Regions from separate parts of the Homo sapiens genome. Here all the other regions are linked to region 5. Evidence: promoter capture Hi-C in 16 types of primary human blood cells and fetal thymus (Javierre and others, 2016). All regions are on one chromosome and are shown on one strand. Each heading gives the region's core, a stretch centred on a gene start or on the middle of the fragment in contact. The rest is flanking DNA. Distances are from core to core; before and after follow the strand shown. Region 1 holds the start of BICD2 (BICD cargo adaptor 2). Region 2 has its middle 25 kb from the start of BICD2. Region 3 overlaps IPPK (inositol-pentakisphosphate 2-kinase). Region 4 has its middle 26 kb from the start of IPPK. Region 5 holds the start of SPTLC1 (serine palmitoyltransferase long chain base subunit 1).

Region 1 (2,700 bases), core at 188-2,687, 650 kb before region 5:
TCCTGGACCACAAAAACAATACTGAAACTCTCCAGTATGGTGTTGGGCCCTCGTGCAATTAGAGTGTGGACTGTGCATTAGATAGTGTCAGTACCCTGTGTGCTGTGATTTCTGCTGTCATGGCTTCTTTCTAATTTGGTCTTGAGGGAGAGTGACCATAAGCCAAGATAGCCACTCTCTAGGAGAACCGAATGGGTGTGGGGTTCAGGTGAGATACAATGAGAAAGTAAAATTAAAAGGTACAAAACAGAAGGAATTTATTATTCTTAGGTTCCGGAGAGGTTAGGGATGCCTAAGAGAGGCGGACAAGCAGATGGAGAGGGGCAGTGAGAGACGGTGGGAAGGAAGGGACTATGGCTGTGCTAGGGTCCATGGAAATCATCCTTTAGGATTTCCCTTGGGGCCTGTGGACTGGCTAAAGAAAATACGAGGGAAGGGTGAACTCATCTGCACTGATACTGGCCATTAGGTGCTATGGCGGTCAGCGGCTGTGGGGTGTGTTGCGCTTTAGGTCAATGAGATAAAGAATAAACGAGTTATCTCACACACCACCATATACGGAGAAGTGTTACCTACGCCAAGGCGAAGGGTACGACTGGCTTTCAAACAACTTAAGTCAGGCCTAAAAATAGATGCGGAGACAACAATTATATTTACCACGTTTATGACCCTGTATTAATGGAAATGTCTTTATTCCCAAGAAATAGACCTTGAAGGACTGAGGGGCGGTGCTGAGGTTCCCGCTGGCCCCTGGGCGCCCCCTGCTGGCCCGTCCTCCTCCCGCCCCCAGACGTCTGCACAGAGCATGCGTCACACCGTCCACGGGTTTCCAGCAGCAGCCGTTCACCCGCGCTCTCGGATGCGCTTCTAGCTCGTGGCCTCCCGGGCTCTGTCCGCGTTGTTCGTCCCACGGTCGGGAGCCCAGTCCTGCCGCCCCGCACCCGCCTCCCCCTGGGGGTTCTCCCGGCAGCCGTCTTGCCACCCCGCGTGGCCGCCGGCTGCCAGAGGCACAGGGGAGCGCGAGGCCCGGCGACCGAGCAGTGTCCCCGGCTCTGAGTGTGGGGAAGGCCGCGGGGCCGCGCCCACTCGACCGCCGTCCAGGGGACTGCAAGGCGCCGGTACATCCGGCTCGACGCTGGCGGCGCAGGCCAATCACGGACGGGGACGGGTGGGCGCGGGGCTGGACGGGTTTTGTAGTCGGTGCGCTAGCGGGACTACTGTCCCCACAGCCCCCTGGGCCACATTGGCGTCAGTGGCTGCGCCCGAGGGCCCGCCCCTCACAGAGCATGGGCCAATCATAGCCGGGGGCCGGGCGGGCGCCGGGCATGATGGACCTTGTGGTCGGAGCGCAGGCAGGACTCCAGCCCCCAGCGGGCCCCGCGCGCCGGAGGGGAGGAGCCGTGCGGCGGCGCGGGCGGGCGGGCGGCCGTCGGGGCAGGGCGGCGGCGGCGGCGGCAGCGGCGGCGGCTGAGGAGGGCCCGGCCTGCGAGAGCCTCAGTGGGAGCCGGCTCAGCCCTCGGCCACCATGTCGGCGCCGTCGGAGGAGGAGGAGTACGCGCGGCTGGTGATGGAGGCGCAGCCGGAGTGGCTGCGCGCCGAGGTGAAGCGGCTGTCCCACGAGCTGGCCGAGACCACGCGTGAGAAGATCCAGGCGGCCGAGTACGGGCTGGCGGTGCTCGAGGAGAAGCACCAGCTCAAGCTGCAGTTCGAGGAGCTCGAGGTGGACTATGAGGCTATCCGCAGCGAGATGGAGCAGCTCAAGGAGGTGAGCCGAGCCGCCCTGCCCTGCGACCCCCGCCCGGCGCCGGGGCCTGTGGGCGTCGTCCCTGGCACCAGGGCGGCCAAGGTCAGCTTGCCAAGCGGGGGCCGGCAGGGGTGGGCCGCCGGGGCGGAGGGGGCACGGGCAGTATGTGGGAGTGGGCCCGGCCTTGGCTAGCAGGCCGGTGCCGCGGCCGTTGCAGACGCCGCTAATGCAGGGGTCCGGGCGCCTTGTCGCCTCCTGCAGCTGCCCGCCTGCTTCTGTGCGGACCTGGGCGGCCCCGGCGGGGCGGGGCTTCGTAAGGGCTGATGCTTTGCGGTGGTCGCTGTTCCGGGTGTGTCTGAGTGTGGGGTGGGGTTGGGAGGGCAGTGGCTGAGCCGGGAGCTGAGGCCACGGATGCTGGTGACCCGCTGGGAGAGGCCGAGGGTGGGCCTGGGTCTGGGTGGCTGCGGCTCTGTCACCTTCAGAGAAAGCACTTCCCCTCTCTGGGCGCAGCTACTTTCGGAGCGTTTCTGCTTCTTTCATGAGTGCCTCCGAGGTGGGGAAAGGTCGTGGACAGCGGCCTAAGTGAGTAGGGGCTCGGGGTTGCACGTGGAGGTTGCCCCTGGCATGGGTCCCCCAGTACCCTTGCCCCAGGCCCAGCGCTGTGTCCTCATGGCCGGGATTGCGCTCCCACCAGCTAGCATGACTTCCCTGGCCCACTTCCTGTCCAGCCCCGCTTCTCGGGCCCTTCCCCTCGCTGTGGCTTGCTGTGTTCCTCTTGGACGGAGACCTCAGTGGTCTGTGTCATTCCCACTGGGGGGAGAGTAGGTTAGACCACCAGGCTGGTCGAGGGTCTCCAGGCGGCAGGGCAGCGGGAGTCTTGGACAGTCCTTCCCCAGCTTCTCTTCTCCCGTTCCCTGACTCCATAGCGTTGTTTGCAGGAATTGCTTTCTGGGAGG
Region 2 (2,700 bases), core at 177-2,676, 670 kb before region 5:
GCTTCACAATACTAGATACAGACCTGTTCCCCAGTCGGACATAATACCCATCCTGTTAACACATTCAGGTAAAGGAGGTGCAACCACTTCACATAAAGTCCATTCAAAATTCCTATTTTCTTCCATATTTTCACCTTAATTACATCAACCCATCAACCATTGAGATCGTGAGAGTAGGGCCTTAATGATGATGTGGAGGTTCACACCTGTAATCCCAGCACTTTGGGAGACAGAGGTGGGTGGATCACTTGAGGCCAGGAGTTTGAGACCAGCCTGGCCAACATGGCAAAATCCCGTCTTTACTAAAAATACAGGCCGGGCACAGTGGCTCAAGCCTGTAATCCCAGCACTTTGGGAGGCCCAGGTGGGTGGACCAAGAGGTCAGGAGATCAAGACCATCCTGGCTAACACAGTGAAACCCCATCTCTACTAAAAATACAAAAAAATTAGTCGGGCATGGTGGCAGGCACCTGTAGTCCTAGCTACTCGGGAGGCTGAGGCAGGAGTGTGGTGTGAACCCCAGAGGTGGAGCTTGCAGTGAGGCTAGATCATGCCACTGTGCTCCAGCCTGGGCAACAGAGAGAGACTCTATCAAAAAAAAAACAGAAAACAAAAATTAGCCAGGTGTGGTGGTGCACACCTGTAATTCCAGCTACTTGGGAGGCTGAGGCACAAGAATTGCTTGAGCCAAGGAGGCATAGGTTGCGGTGAGCTGAGATCATGCCACTGCACTCCAGCGGGACACAGAGTGAGACTCTGTCTCACTAAATAAATAAATAATGATTTTTTTTTAAACGAGGGGATTAGTGTCCTTATAAGAAGAGCGACACACCTGAGAGCTAGCATGCTGGTGCCCGAGCTCTCTCTCACTCAACCCATTGTGAAGACACAGTGAGAAAGCTGCCACTACAAGCCAAGCAGAGAGCCCTCACCAGAACCCGACCTTGCTGGCACCTTGATCTTGAACTTCCATCCTCCAGAACTGCAAGGGAGTAAATTTCTTTTGTTTAAGCGCAGCATGTGGTATTTTGTTATAGCAGCCTCAACTGATGACACATGTTTACACCATCTGACCTAGGTTTGGGTTGACCCCAGAAGACCAAATTCGACTGGCTGGGACTGAGAAGGGAAGAGAGCAAAGTCCAGTATGAAACCTAAATTCTAAGATGACTTTAACTCTTAACAGTTTACTTCATTACTTAATAGGAAAAACGTAAACTCCTAAAGTTGTCTTACATCTGAATTTTGGGAGATGGAATGACATGTAGTGAAGGTGAGGGATCCTCCCGTTTCTACTTAAAACATTAAGGCCATTCAGTGGCTTTAATGAAAAGACTAGGCAAGCTTTCAACTTAGACACTGTCTTTCTCACAAGTTCTGCTAAAATTTCCTATTAATATGTTCAGTGTCTGAATTGAATTTTGTGTTAGCCCACATGGTACCTTCTCATTGTTTTCAGTATTCAGCAAGTGGCCCACTTGACAGCTTCTTTCCATCTAGAAGCTTCACTTTCTCTCTACTTTCCAAAATCTAGACAGGAAAGTTAACTCATAAAATCTAAAAATGATTTTAAAATCTTGTCACTGGTAGACAGAGAGAGCACTACCTACCATCCTAAAATGGTACAAAGACTGCTCCTTTTAGTTTTTCTTTGTAAATATCTGTGGTCTTCAAAAATAGATCATATTTCAGCTACACATATTAACACCCACACAAAAACATTACATTTTATTTTAGCTTAAAAGTGAGCATACTATATGGACTTTTAAAATAATACAGCATGAAGTCTTACTTTTCCCCACCATGATCCACTTCAAAGCCATCTGTAATGTGTCAGCCACTTCTGTGAGGTCAGCCATATGTGCATTACATGAAACATGCTTATGGAAATATTAAAAATTAGAAATCATTTAAAAGTGCATCTCAGGAAGCAGGTGCACACTCTTACAGAATGTATTTGTAATTCTTTTTTATTTTATTTTATTTTATTTTATTTTATTTTATTTTATTTTTCTTGAGACAGAGTCTTGCTCTGTCTCCAGGCTGGAGTGCAGTGGCACGATTTCGGCTCACTGCAACCTCTGCCTCCTGGGTTCAAGCAATTCTCCTGCCTCAGCCTCCCCACTAGCTGGGATTACAGGCATGCAACACCACGCTGGCTAATTTTTGTATGTTTAGTAGAGACGGGGTTTCACCATGTTGGCCAGGATGGTCTTGATCTCTTGACCTCGTGATCCACCCATCTTGGCCTCCCAAAATGCTGGGATTACAGGCGTGAGCCACCACGCCTGGCCTATAATTCTTTTATAAACATTATGTGTTGAAAATGGGACATATTAATCTGTAGAAAGATAACTGTACAACCTAAGAATACTCACAATTTATTTCCTATACTAAGATACATCAAATCCTAATTAGATACTCCCTTCTTGCTGTTTTTAAGCATTTAAACAAAAATGTTAAAGCTGCCAGATTTTTTAAACTGTAAATAACTTTTAAACTGTGCTCAGAGTTAGATCTCAATAGACTTTTTTTTTTTTTTTTTCAGATGGAGTCTCACCCTGTCGCCCAGGCTGGAGTGCAGTGGCGCGATCTCGGCTCACTGCAAGCTCTGCCTCCTGGGTTCATGCCATTCTCCTGCCTCAGTCTCCCGAGTAGCTGGGACTAGGCACCCGCCACCATGCCCGGCTAATTTTTTTT
Region 3 (2,700 bases), core at 118-2,617, 540 kb before region 5:
GCAACAGAGGGGCAGGGAACTTCAGAAAGCTGAGTCTGTATTAGCAGGTGAATGCTGCCAGGGGAGGGGGGTCCTGTGTTCTTGTAGTTGGTATTTCTGTTCATGGGCCCACTGAACTCCTTCCTCTGAGGCTACAGTGGGGAATTTCTGTGGAGAGAAAGCTCATGTGTCTTGGCCTGGCATCACCCTGATCAGGACTGCTTTGCTACAAAAGTCCATTGTGCAGCTTATGAGTTAGTTCCATGATAAACCGAGACAGGCCTTGCTTTCCTGTAGATGCCGCAGAGCTCTGTGCATGCAGTCTGGCAGGTGAGTAAGCTTGGCCCCTGTGGGTGGCGGGGTTTGCCCTGTGTGAGGGACAGGGTGAGAGCTTGCACCATGGCAGCCTGGGTCAGTTTACACTGATCAGGGATTTCATGTAATGTATTTTCTTATTGTGTTGATTTTCAAGCATGACCCTCAGTCACACTTACACATCGCTAGCAGGGCATCACTGAATGCTTGCCATCAGTGGAGAGCTGTACTGTGTTTGATGCCTAATTGTTGGAGGGCGGGTCAGGCACACTCGAATAGCACACACCATCATGTGTAGGTGAGGAGCAAATGCACTTTTAGGGGAACGAACTTCTGGGGAGCTGTCTAGAGTTAGGACTTCTGTCGATCAACTTCTGCCTTTCCTTAAATTTTGGTGGAATTATAGTTCCATTAAAATGATCCTTAGCCAGTCGATTCCCATGATTGATTGTTGATGCCTGCCTTCAGCTTGGGAGGGGACAGCGGTAGCATGCATGCCATTGATCTTGGCTTCCCCAGGTCTCAGCTTGGGGCTTAAGGAGGGGACAGCTATCTGCAGCACAGCGAGCCAGGAGCATGGCATTGGCTGGGAACTGGAGCTCAGTCAGAGGGGCCCAGGGGGCCGGGTGCCTGGGATTTAAGAGCAACGACGTACATTGTCTAAGTAGGGCTGCGGGGAGCGGGTGGGGGAGTCTGGCTTGGTCTCCATAGGGCCTTTGTTGCTCCTTAGGCATCTTTTGATCTAGAAAATGGCCCTTTCTAAGCCGTCTTTAGTGCAGCCTGCTTCCTCCCTCCTGCTTAGGCTTTGCCCTGTGGCCTCGGCAGGGGCGCTTCCCAGGGCATTGGACCCCCCACCTTTGCACTGCCGTTAGAGCCCCTCCCAGGCGCATTCTCCTCCTACATATAATGTACGTTCTTAGAATGTATTTTTTTGAACATTTAAAAAATTGAAATATTCAAAATAAAGATAAATTAAAAAGAAGTTATTGTAATCATTGCTACTTGGAGATGTTAAACTTGTGCCGAATGTCCTTTCAGACCTTTTGATGTAGACACATCAATACTTATTTTATTTAAACATTTTTATTTTAAAAACTTGAAGTGTAACGTACCTGCAGAAAAGTACTCAGATCGTGGGTATAGCTTAATTATCACAAAGTAAGTGGACCCATAATCCTCTGACCAGTCCCTTCTAGAACCTTCCTTAGCAACTATTCATGCATGCCCAAGGGGTGGGCACAAGGGGTCAGTGTTACCTGTTTTTTGAACTTTATATAAATAGAATTACACCCATACGTGTGTGTGCTCACGTGTATTTCTCTTTTTATGAAAATAGGCTCATTCTGTAAGCCCCATTCGGTAACTTTTTTCATTTAACAGTATGTGATAACCACAAATCTGTGTCCGTAAGTACTGATCTTTCTTATAAATCACTGACTGTGTGATTTATAAATCACACTGAAATGTGTGCCACTGTGTTTAAACCATCTCATTATTGTTGGGCATTTAGGTTATTTCCATTTTATTTCTTTCCTTAAGATAAAGTCCTGGGAGGGGCTGGCTGGTCAGAGGCTGAAGGTTCTTGGTTGTCCCACTGCCCAGTGTGCCCTTGCTGGGTCCCAGCCCTGGCCTCCCTGCCCTGGGGGCTTCCCAGCCTCCTTGCTGTGGAGCTTCACTGTGGACTTTGTCCACTGAGGATGGGACCCCCAAACTGACTGACACCTTGTGCCTTGGCTTTGAGCAAATACTAATCAGATTTGTTTTATTTTCCAACAGCGCTGCGTCGTGCTGCGGTTTCTGAAGTTTCCTCCAAATAGGAAGAAGGTAAGATGGGTGGGTTTGCACCCAGACTTACAACAATTATTTAAGAAAACTCTGATTTTTTTTTCCGATGTAGAAACATTGATGCTAGTTGTAGCATTCAAAGATGATACAAGCATTCAGTGCAGAAAGTGGTGTGTCCATCATTCCTGATATAAAACTGACTGGGTCCAGCACGTTAACCCATGTGTCACTGTGGTAGTCTATGTGGCGCTCAGCCAGGAGCTGCCCTGGCCTGGCCTGTAGGTCCTGCTCAGAGGGCCCTGCTTGTGGCGAGGACCCCAGGATCAGGCAAGCTTTGCGTTGCCGAGTTCCATAGCACCTGCTGCCTCAGTTTCCCCATCTGTGGAATTGTGTCTATGAAAATAGAGTCTCCAGTGTGGTGGTAGACAGTCTGTGTTAAACATTGTGGTGGGAGGGGGTCGTTAGGTTTCTCTTCTCTGAGTCATCCAAGCAAAATGCCATGGACCACCCGTGAAAAAGCATTGCCCTCTCTTTTTTGACCACTGAGTTGCAGCTTTCTGTGCAAATCTCTGTTGGTCCTGGGGTGCATACCGAGTCGCGGAGGCTTCCTGCATTCAGGGC
Region 4 (2,700 bases), core at 101-2,600, 580 kb before region 5:
AAACAAGAAGAGATTGGGGAAATATATTCAGCATCCTTAAAGAAACAAAATTCCAACCAAGAATGTCATATCCAGCTAAATTAAGCTTCATAAGCAAAGGATAAATAAAATCCTTTTTACACAAGCAAACACTAAGGAAATTCATTATTACCAGACTGCCTTACAAGAGGTCCTTAAGGGAGTGCTAAATATGGAATACAAAACAAAAGACTGTTGCCTGCCACCATAAAAACACATAGTCCACTGACACTATAAAGCAACTATACAATCAAGTCTGTGTAACAACCAGTTGACAACATGACTGGATCAAATCCTCACATATCAATATTAACCTTGAATGTAAATGAGAAAACATCCCACTTAAAAGGCACAGAGTGGCAAGTTGGATAAAGAAGCAAGACCCAACTGTATGCTGTCTTCAAGAGACCCATCTCTTGGCTAGGAGTGGTGGCTCACATCTCTAATCCCAGCACTTTAGGAGGACAAAGCAGGAGGATCACTTGAGCCCAAGAGTTGAAGACCAGCCTAGGCAACATAGTGAAAGAATTTAAAAAGAGAGAGACCCATCTTATATGCATGACACTCATAAGCCCAAAGTAAAGCAATGGAGAAAGATCTGTGAAGCAAAGAGAAAACGAAAAAGAACAAGAGTTACTATTCTTACTTCAGACAAAATATAAACCAACAATGCTCAAAGAGGACAAAGAAGGACATTCCATTAATGATAAAGAGTTCAATTCAACTATCCTAAATATATATGCATCCCAAATTGGAGCACCCAGATTCATAAAACAAATTATTAGAGACCTACAAAGAGACTTAAATAACCACATAATAATAGTAGGGGACTTCAACACCCTACTGACAGTGTTGGACAGAACATTGAGACAGAAAACTAATAAAGGTATTTGGGACCTAAACTCAACACTTCACCAAATGCACCTGACAGACATCTACAGAATGCTCCACCCAACAACAGAATATACGTTTTTCTGTTCTTATGTACACATGGCACATACTCTTAAGATTGACTGCACACTCAGCCATAAAGCAATTCTCAACAAGTTAAAAAAAAAACAAACCAACCACACTCTCAACCACAGTGCAATAAAAATAGAAATTAAAAACAAGAAGATCTCTCAATACCATATATGGAAATTAAACCACTGGCTCCTGAATGACTTTGGGTAAAGAATGAAATTAAAGCAGAAATCAAGAAACTCTTTGAAACTATTGAAAACAAGGATGCAACATACCAGAATATCTGGGACACAGCTAAAGCAGTGGTAAGAGGAAAGTTTATAGCTGTGAGCACCCACATCAAAAAGTCAGAAAGATCTCAAATTAACAACCTAACATCACACTTAGAGGAACTAGAAAAACAAGAGCAAACCAACCCTAAAGCCAGCAGAAGAAAAATAACTAAAATGAGAGCTGAACTGAACAAAGTTGACATGTGAAAACCCATACAAAAGATCAATGAAACCAAAAGTTGGTTCTTTGAAATACTATCGCAAGGACAAAAAACCAAACACCGCATGTTCTCACTCACAGGTGGGAATTGAACAATGAGAACACATGGACACAGGAAGGGGAACATCACACACCCGGGCCTGTTGTGGGGTGGGGGGAGGGGGGAGGGATAGCATTAGGAGATATACCTAATGTTAAATAACGAGTTAATGGGTGCAGCACACCAACATGGCACATGTATACATATGTAACTAACCTGCACGTTGTGCACATGTACCCTAAAACTTAAAGTATAATAAAAAAAAAGAGAGTAAACCCCAGGTGTGGACAGACATGTAACCCATAGGTCTTCCCTGCAGTGGAGCGCTATTGATCTCACAGCCAAGAACAGTGCTGAATTTGTCCTCTCTGAAGAAGATAGAGTCAAAAAGTACAAGGAGTGAATGACTGAGCTACTATACTCAATTTTATTATTATTATCAATTAATTAACTTATTTTAATTGTCAAATAAAAATGATATATGTTTATGGTGAAAAAAAAAATGAGACTCATAGACCTCTAGCTAGACTGATAAAGAAAAAAAGAGAGAGAAGATCCAAAGAAACACAATCAGAAATGACAACGGTGACATTACCACTGGCCTCACTGAAATACAAGAAACCCTCAGAAAGTATTATGAACATCTCTATGCACACAAACTAGAAAACCTAGAAGAAATGGATAAATTGCTGTAAACATTCAACTTACCAATATTGAACCAGGAAGAAATTGAATACTTGAACAGACCAATAACAAGTTCCAAAATTGAATCAATAGTAACAACAACAACAACAACAACAAAAACCTACCAACCAGAAAAAGCCCTGGACCAGATGGATTCACAGCTGAATTCTACCAGACATGTAAAGAATAGCTGGTACAAATCCTACTGAAACAATTCTAAAAAATTGAGGAGACAGACCTCCTCCCTGATTTATTCTATGAGGCCGGAATCATTCTGATACCAAAACCTGGTGAAAAAAATAAAACTTTAAGCTAATATCCCTGATAAAATTAGATGCAAAAATCCTCAGCAGAACACTAGCAAATTGAATCCAGCAGCACATTTAAGAGCTAATCCACTATGACCAAGTAAGCTTTATTCCTGGGATGCAAGGTTGGTTCAACATATACAATTAAATAAATGTGATTTCTCACATAAACAGAACTGAAAACAAAAACCCCAT
Region 5 (2,700 bases), core at 69-2,568:
AAATGCCAATAAACATATAAGAAGCTGCACAACCTCATGAGTAACCAGAAGCATCAATAATAAAGGATAGTGAGGTATCATTTTATCTCCATTAAACTGGCAAATTTTTTTAAAAGATTGATAATATCCATCATGGACTAGAGCATAGAAAAACTTCCAAATTATTTTAATTGGTTGAGCCATTTTGGCAGTACTTATCAAAATTAATAACGTGCATAGTCTTCAGATATATCCCATGTTGAAAAAACTGGTCAGAAAAACTCCAACATGCACAGAAAGATATACACACAAGGAACATCGACAGTTATGGCAGCATTATTTGTAATAGGGGAAAGGTGGGAACAACATAAGTATTCACCAATAGGGAAACGTTTACATAAAATGGAACGATGAATATACATAAATTATTCCATGGAAGTCTTCAGCCATTAAATATGAGATATATTAGGAAAAAAATGCTAGAAAAAAAATTTAAAAAAAGTTGTAGAAAAGTCTTGTCCCTATGATCTCAATTATATTTAAGAAATCCAATCCAATTAAGTATGTGCGCGTGCATACTGTTTGCATATGCATTGGAAGGCTCTAAAAGGTTCTTTACCAAACTGCTATATGATTTAATACCTGCAAAGCCTTGGCCTATGTCTGACAAAACAGGAAGTGCTATATGGGTTGGCTATTTTTGTGTATAATTATGCATTTCTTAATGATAATGCATTGCTGGATTACTTATGCTACTAAACGTAAACGTATTGGCCAGGCGCGGTGGCTCACGCCTCTAATCCCAGCACTTTGGGAGGCCGAGGCAGGCGGATCACCTGAGGTCAGGAGTTTGAGACCAGCCTGACCAACATGGAGAAACCCCGTCTCTACTAAAAATACAAAATTAGCCAGGCGTGGTAGCCCACGCCTGTAATCCCGGCTACTCGGGAGGCTGGGGCAGGAGAATCGCTTGAACCCGGGAGGCGGAGGTTGCGGTGAACCGAGATCACGCCATTGCACTACAGCCTGGGCAACAAAAGCGAAACTCCGTCTCAAAAAAAAAAAAATAAAGTAAACGTATTGCAATCATTTTAACTCTCTGCGCCCAGCTGATGACCAAGTGTAAGGCCCGTTCATTACTACTTTCTCCATCCTGAATCCAGCAGGGAGGGTAATAGGACACAAGGTAAACAATTCTTGGAAAAACTGCGGCATCCCACCTGACCCCGTCCAGCCTCCTGTCAACCAGTGCGCAAGTGCGAGTAGGCGGTGCCCAGCGCTCCGCCGCCCCGCCCTCTGCGGAGGTGATAACGACACTGAGCAGCGACGCGCACTTTTGGGACGCGCTTGTGACCCGCCTTCCGGAAGGAAGCGGCTAACTATGGCGACCGCCACGGAGCAGTGGGTTCTGGTGGAGATGGTACAGGCGCTTTACGAGGTGGGCTCCGCGCCATTAGCGGTCCGCGACCACACCCGGGCCCGGGGAGGGTGGGAGGACGCGTGTGGATTTGTGGCCTGAGACCTCGGCGGGACTGGCTCGGTCACGCCCAGACTCGGTGCCTCTTGCTGGAAGGACTGCCGGGAGCTTCTAGTCCCAGCGGTTGAGTGTAGGGAGGAACGGGCGGGGGCGGGGGCTGGGACTGAGGGTCTCGGTTTGAATTCTTATGCTCCGGGTCCCCTGGAAGCTCCGGAAAGGAACACGTGTAAGGGGACGCAGGAGACAGGTCTGCAAAAACCAGAGTTTAGACGGACGATAAAACGGAGTGGTGAAAATGAGTGGAACACCTTCGTCTGGGAAGGTCCTAAGGAAGTCAGCTCTTTGGAACTACGGTACAGTTCGTTGGGGAATAAAATTGTAATAAATTGGAGTTTGTTTTTGTCGAAAAGAAATCAAGTGACTTAGGATTTGTGAATAAAAAATAGTTTGTCATTCTTCTGCGTACATCAGTTTTCTGTCTTATAAAGATACAACTAGTTTAGTCGATTTTTATTTATTTATTTTTGTTTTTTTTTTTTGAGACGGTGTTTCGCACTTGTTGCTCAAGCTGGAGTGCAAGGGCGTGATCTCGGCTCACTACAACCTCCGCCTCCCGGGTTTAAGCGATTCTCCTGCCTCAGCTTCCCAGGTAGCTGAGATTACAGGCATGTGCCACCATGCCCGGCCAATTTTGTATTTTTATTAGAGACGGGGTTTCTGCATGTTGGTCAGGCTGGTCTCGAACTCCCGACCTCAGGTGATCCGCCCGCCTTGGCCTCCCAAAGTGCTGGGATTATAGGCTTGAGCCACTGCACCTGGCCGTAGACTTTTAAAGGAAGAATAGTTAAGAGTTTTTTGAAGCCTAGTTATTTCAGATACATAAGATAATAAGAAACCAGAATGTCAATCTTAGTGTTCATTCATTTAATAACTGAGAGTCCCCGTGCTGTCTTGCAGAGCTATTCATTGGGCACTGAAGAACTTATTTTATTTTATTTTATTTTTTAAAGACAGGGTTTCACTCTGTCGCCCAGGCTAGAGTGCAGTGGTGCGATCAGCTCACTGCTGCGTTGACCTCCCAGACTCAAGCGATCCTCCCACCTCAGACTCCCGAGTAGCTGGGACCACATACCACCATGCCCAACTAATCTTTTTTTTTTTTTAATAGAGACGGGGGCTTGCTGTGTTGCCCAGCCTGGCCTCGAACTCCTGGCCTCAAGTAATCCTCCTGCTTTGGCCTCCCA

Evidence for each region. The method cuts DNA at HindIII sites, captures the fragments that hold promoters and counts their contacts. A CHiCAGO score of 5 or more calls a contact.
Region 1: a contact is called between the fragment with the promoter of BICD2 here and the fragment with the promoter of SPTLC1 in region 5, in 1 of 17 cell types (naive CD8 T cells). The highest score is 6.3, in naive CD8 T cells.
Region 2: a contact is called between a fragment that was not itself captured here and the fragment with the promoter of SPTLC1 in region 5, in 7 of 17 cell types (total CD8 T cells, naive CD4 T cells, naive CD8 T cells and 4 more). The highest score is 9.2, in total CD8 T cells.
Region 3: a fragment that was not itself captured here is called in contact with the fragment with the promoter of SPTLC1 in region 5 in 3 of 17 cell types (fetal thymus, naive CD4 T cells and activated CD4 T cells); the score reaches 5.9 in fetal thymus.
Region 4: a fragment that was not itself captured here is called in contact with the fragment with the promoter of SPTLC1 in region 5 in 1 of 17 cell types (naive CD8 T cells); the score reaches 5.2 in naive CD8 T cells.

The regions. Positions count from the first base shown.
Region 1 is chr9:92,763,570-92,766,269 of GRCh38, reverse strand. It overlaps BICD2 (BICD cargo adaptor 2), which reads left to right and starts at 1,437. Exons shown (of 7, transcript NM_001003800.2): 1 at 1,437-1,765. The coding sequence starts at 1,526. RefSeq lists a silencer at 747-1,486. The HindIII fragment of the contact is 10,857 bases long and covers 1-2,700 here.
Region 2 is chr9:92,788,061-92,790,760 of GRCh38, reverse strand. No RefSeq gene overlaps it. Among named protein-coding and RNA genes, the nearest start is that of BICD2, 25 kb to the right of the region's middle. The HindIII fragment of the contact is 159 bases long and covers 1,347-1,505 here.
Region 3 is chr9:92,658,052-92,660,751 of GRCh38, reverse strand. It overlaps IPPK (inositol-pentakisphosphate 2-kinase), which reads left to right. Exons shown (of 13, transcript NM_022755.6): 2 at 2,071-2,118. Among named protein-coding and RNA genes, the nearest start is that of IPPK, 11 kb to the left of the region's middle. The HindIII fragment of the contact is 2,093 bases long and covers 321-2,413 here.
Region 4 is chr9:92,695,165-92,697,864 of GRCh38, reverse strand. No RefSeq gene overlaps it. Among named protein-coding and RNA genes, the nearest start is that of IPPK, 26 kb to the right of the region's middle. The HindIII fragment of the contact is 2,525 bases long and covers 88-2,612 here.
Region 5 is chr9:92,114,031-92,116,730 of GRCh38, reverse strand. It overlaps SPTLC1 (serine palmitoyltransferase long chain base subunit 1), which reads left to right and starts at 1,318. Exons shown (of 15, transcript NM_006415.4): 1 at 1,318-1,417. The coding sequence starts at 1,361. RefSeq lists an enhancer at 756-815. The HindIII fragment of the contact is 11,716 bases long and covers 1-2,700 here.